2 separate regions of the Homo sapiens genome follow, and region 1 is linked to region 2. Evidence: promoter capture Hi-C in 16 types of primary human blood cells and fetal thymus (Javierre and others, 2016). All regions are on one chromosome and are shown on one strand. The core of a region is centred on a gene start or on the middle of the fragment in contact, and the rest is flanking DNA. Distances in the headings are between cores, read along the strand shown. Region 1 overlaps BUB1 (BUB1 mitotic checkpoint serine/threonine kinase). Region 2 holds the start of ACOXL (acyl-CoA oxidase like).

Region 1 (2,700 bases), core at 16-2,515, 83 kb after region 2:
AAGGTATCAAAATAACTACTGTTGGAAGAGGGAATTAGAATTTGACAGCCTACTACGTGCCAGGCTTTTAATCTAATACTATTATATTTTACATTTTACAGAAGTAAACTGAGGCTGAAGGTTAAAGAGACACCCCCCCCCGCCCACCCCCTTGTTACACATAAACAGTCTGGCATAGTGGTTAAGAGCACAGAGTCTGGAGATGGACTGACTATGTTCTAATCCTAGCTCCCTCACCTAAGTAGTCACGTGATCTTGACCAAGATCATTTCAATTTTCCATATCCCTCTTTTCTGTAGAGTTGAGCTGATGCTAGTACCTACCTTAGAGGCTTATTGTAAGAACCAAGTAAATTAATAAAGCACTGAGAACAGTGTTCTGCATGTGCTTAGCGCTGAGTGAGTGTTAACCATGTTGGATTAGTATTTGATAACTGCCACTAATATAATTTTTTGTAACATTCCAGGTTGGAGAGAAAGCTTTTTCTTACTTTTAGAAATTATTTCTCTTTTGTGGACCCAAAGTATATCTCATATATGCAAATTGCACATAGGTAGTATAAGTTTTGTGGATATAAGTGGAAAAGAAATTAAATAATATGTGTCTATCTGCGCACATTAGAAGTAACTAATGTCCACATCTGCCCTTAAGACATGTATCCCTAATTGTGTTAAAGATAGAATCTAGCCGTTCCAGTTGAGTGGAGCAAATGCACCTAGAGTTGATTCCCTTTGTCACAACTAAATATTGATCCAAATTTGTAGATCTAAAATGGCAAATAATAAACTGTGCAGAGCTACCAATTTTGACTTTTAAAAATAGTTCTTTTTTATTTTGAATTAATACTCTTATAAGGCTTTGAAAGCTTACTTAGTAAATATCTCTACTCACTTTGTCTATAATTTATTTGGTAAAGTTCTTGAGTACTCAATTCATGTTCCCTTTTTTTTTTTTTTTCTCATTCCTTTAAGACTTCATTGTTGGGAACCCATGGGATGATAAGCTGATTTTCAAACTTTTATCTGGGCTTTCTAAACCAGTGAGTTCCTATCCAAATACTTTTGAATGGCAATGTAAACTTCCAGCCATCAAGCCCAAGACTGAATTTCAATTGGGTAAGAATTATTTGGATAATATAACTTTAAATTCTTGTTTCTCTATGAGAAGTTGATGGTAACGTGTGTGTGTGTGTGTGTGTGTGATTCTCCTATTTGCCCCCCAACCTCCAATAGGGAGTTGTATCTGTAATACTAAACTGATCATTTTGTTAAGCCATGATTGTAGGATTGTGCTTGCTGTTGGGACTATAACTCCTATAACTCATAGAGGGCAATTTGCCAATATCTATTAAAATTAAAAATGCATTTACTTTTAAAGCCAGCTATCCACTTTTAAGGATTTCCTATAGATATTATTATATACTTCTATAGTAAAATACTATAGTAACATTGGCAACAGAACAAGAAAGCTCACTCTGTACTGATAGGGAATGAGCTCCAAAACATACCATACTGTTAAAAGGGCAGAGCCGTATGTATTATATGCCACAATTAAAACAGTTAGCTGTAGGTGGGAGTGGGAAACAATGGTAGCAAGACTTCACAATATTCCCTTTTAAGTTTTTTAATGAATAGACTTTATTTTTAAGAGAAGTTTTAAGCTTACAGAAAAATTCAGCATAAAGTACATATTCCTACCTCCCCATATATACACACACAGATTTTCGTGTTACTAACATCTTGCATGAGTGTGGTACATTTGTTAAAATTAAGCCAATGTTGATGCATTATTAATTGAAGTGCTAGTTTACATTAGGGTTCACTCTTTGGGTTGTATATCCTGTGGGGTTTTTTACGAATGTAGTACAGTGACATGTATCCATCATTACAGTATCATACAGAATCATTTCCTCACCCTAAAAATCCCCTGTGCCTCACCTATTCATCCCTTCCTCCTTGTCCCCCAACGCCTGGCAACCACTGATTGTTTTGCTGTCTGTGTAGTTTTGCCTTTTCCATAATGTCATATAGTTGGAATCATATAGTATATAGCCTTTTCAACTGGCATCTTTTACTTAGCAATATGCATTTAAGGTTCCCTTGTGTCATTTCATGATTTGATAGCTTTTTTTTTTTTATCACTGAATAATGTTTAGTGCATGAATGTACCACACCGTTAAACCTTTCCACTCATCTAATGAAAGAGATCTTGGTTACTTCCAAGTTTTGGCAATTATGAATAAAGTTGCTGTAAACATCTGTGTGCAAGTTTTTGTGTGGACATAAGTTTTCAACTCATAATTTGGGTAAATACCAAGGAGTGTAATTGCAGGGTTATATGATGAGAGTATGTTTACTTTTGTAAGAAACTTCCAAAGTGACTGTACCATTTAGCATTCCCACCAACAGTGAATAAGAATTCCTGTTCCCCAGTCTTGCCCTCATTAGGTGGTTGTCAGCGTTTTGGGTTTTAGCCATTCTGATACGTGAACAGTGATATCTCAATCTTGTTTGAAGTTTCAATTACCTGAAGACATACTGTGTTGAATATTTTTTCATATGCTTATTTGCCATCAGTATATCTTCAGTGAGATGTCTATCCAGATCTTTTGTCCATTTTCTAATTGGTTGGTTGGTTTCTTATCATTGCCTTGTTCCTGATCTTAGGGGGAAAGCATCTACATAGTTTATTACCTATAAG
Region 2 (2,700 bases), core at 88-2,587:
TATAAAAACAGTTTGTACTCATGAACCGCCTGAAATGCTCTTGGGTCCCCCCAGGGCTCCCTGTACCACACTTTGAGAACCATAACTTAAAGAACTATGTATGAGAGAGAGGGAAAGAGAAGTCGGCGAGACACTGATGGATATACCCACCATCCCACACTTCTCACTTTTCAACTTTCAAACGCCCCCAACTCCCCACTAGGTAACCTCAGTGCAGGAACCCCAGATTCTCCAAGGACAGCCTGACGTTCACTCAAGCCATCTCCTTCCCTCTCATTTCCGCAAAATAAATTAAACGAGGGCTAAGTGGGCATGGCTAACCAATTAATCCTCCACGGGCACATACTGACATTTTTAATAGGGCCTTTCTTAAGCTAGAACTCCAAAGCATGCCTCCAACTGGGCTTTTCAGACTGCTTGAAATGGGTATGAGAAAGAGAGCCCACAGGAGACACGAATGCCGAGTTCTGGTCCTGACTGTCCGGTGACTGAACCATCTCTCTATCTCCAGTGCAGCTCAAGCACTCAACCCTCTGCCTGCTTCTCAGGGCTGTCCTGGCATCGGATGACATCGAGGACCTGAGTTCTTCTTATAACCAAACCGCCCCGCTGAAGCTGCCCATTCCGCACACCTGCACTCCGAGGGGGTCCTGTAAGCCTGTCCCACCCCGACGCCCAGACACGCCCTGGACAGGGCCACTCCATCCCTGTGCGCCCATCCCATCGCGGTTTTCTGTCCCCTTCTCCCCACCAAGGGTGGGACATCGCGGGGCGGGGACTCAAGAAACAGGTTCAACAAACCAGCAAGGCCGATCTTCCAGCCACACGGTCTTCGTAGACACCGCGCCTGTCACCGCGGGGCCCAGCCCTGCACCCGACTCTTCGTGGGGGAGGGAGCTCGGGAGGAGAGGGCACCTCTCAGGGGGCCGAAGAGGTCGGCGGCGGCCGGCTGCGCCCACACACCTGGGGAGGGGAGCCCGTCACCTGCGGCGAGGCAGGGACCCGCCTCTCAGGCGCGGCGCACACCCCACCTCGCCCTCGCCAGGGCGTTGTCCGCAGCGACGCTCCGGGGACCGAGGGGACACGCTCGGCGGCTTCGGGGGCGCGGGCAGGGGCGACGGCCGCAGCGCGGTACCTTTGCCGGAAGAGCGGGCGCCGCCGAGGAGTCCGCGCAGCTCGTTCTTGAGGCTCCAGAAGTCGCCGTCCAGGTAGCGGTGCAGGGAGGAGTCCCCGAGCCCCAGACCCGGCGCCGGCTGCATCGCGCTCACCTGCCTCTGCTTCTCCGCGTGGCTGGCAGGGCCGGCTTCGCTCCGCGCCTCCTCCAGCTCCCAGCAGGTGAGGCCCCAGGCGCACGCCCTCTCCCTCTCCACCCCTCCCGGCCCGTCTCCTCCCTCCTCACCTTCCTCTCCCCTCCCTCCCCGGCCCCGCCCTGCCCTGGCTTCCCGGGCGGGAGGTCCGGCGCGAGCGGGCGCTTCTACGGTGGCCTCCCCTTGCCCTTCCGAGGAAGCGAAAACTCTACCCTCCAGTTATCAACTGTCCCTCAAGATTTGTGAGCCGTAAGAAACAAGTACTAGACCCCTAGAAAGGGTGCCAGTCACGTGGACCTGGGCACCAGAGGCCCGGCTGCTCAGGACTGACCGGCTGACCCACTCAGCAGATCTCCCGGCCAGCCACTTTGCCTGACCCCCACGACCCAAGATAGCCTGGCTCCAGCTCTGGCCCCTCCTCAGCTGTATCTCACCTCTTCCCCGCACTGGGCATTACTGTGAACTCTAATATCACGGTAATCTAAAGGCGTCCCAGGTCTACAGCACTGCAGTCCAGGGTAGCTGGAAGCTGCATTCATGACGAGGTGATCGACCGGAACACGATACTCATTTCCCAGGACACTCCTTTTTTTGTTGTGGCTGGAGGAAAATGAGTTATAACCTAAGTGGAAAATGTTCCTTCCTTTCTGCTCCCTAATTCTCATATACCTTGTTGATTCTCCTTTTAAATACTCAAGGAAATGTTAGCCGTTCCCTTCCAGAGGCTACTTTGCTGGGGAGATGATGGTGTGGTCTGCTGTCGTGAGGTTAGTGGATGCCATCTGTATTCGTTTCCAGTAACAAATTCCCACAAAGTGAGTGGCTTAAGATAGCACCAATTTATTCTCTTACATTTCTGGAAGTCAGAAGTCCAAAATAGGACTTACAGGGTTAAAATCAAGGTGTTGGCAGAGCTGGGTTCCTTCTCACAGCTCCAGGGAAAAATGCATTTCCTTGTCTTTACTAGCTCCTAGAGGCTGCCTGCATTTCTTAGCTCCTGGCCCCTTCGTCTGTCTTCAAAATGCATCACTTCAAGCTCTGCTTTCATCGTTCCATCTTCTACTGACTTTGACCTTCTTGCCTCCCTTGGACTTGTTTACATGGGACCCATGGGAATAATCCATGGTCAATGGGAATAATCTTCCCACCACAAGATCCATACTTTAATCACACCAGCAATGTCCATTTTGCCATATCAGAAACACACTCTCCGGTACTAGGGATTAAAACATGAGCACCTTTGGCGAGTCATTCCTCTGTCTACCACACCTGTGCAGCTGCGAGTAATAATACCCAGTCATCCATGATAAAAGGGGCTTTGTTTTCTCACATCACAGGAAGCTTGGTGGTAGGAAAGCCCCAGGGGTGAATTTGATGGCTCTACCCTGGGGAC

The links. The method cuts DNA at HindIII sites, captures the fragments that hold promoters and counts their contacts. A CHiCAGO score of 5 or more calls a contact.
Region 1: a contact is called between a fragment that was not itself captured here and the fragment with the promoter of ACOXL in region 2, in 1 of 17 cell types (megakaryocytes). The highest score is 7.5, in megakaryocytes.

Annotation. Positions count from the first base shown.
Region 1 is chr2:110,647,649-110,650,348 of GRCh38, reverse strand. BUB1 (BUB1 mitotic checkpoint serine/threonine kinase) reads left to right here. Exons shown (of 25, transcript NM_004336.5): 19 at 972-1,115. Among named protein-coding and RNA genes, the nearest start is that of SNORD132, 9.2 kb to the left of the region's middle. The HindIII fragment of the contact is 795 bases long and covers 868-1,662 here.
Region 2 is chr2:110,731,210-110,733,909 of GRCh38, reverse strand. ACOXL (acyl-CoA oxidase like) reads right to left here and starts at 1,337. Exons shown (of 18, transcript NM_001142807.4): 1 at 1,136-1,337. LOC124906064 (a long non-coding RNA gene) reads left to right here and starts at 1,485. Exons shown (of 3, transcript XR_007087181.1): 1 at 1,485-1,556; 2 at 2,006-2,074; 3 at 2,275-2,549. The HindIII fragment of the contact is 3,688 bases long and covers 1-2,650 here.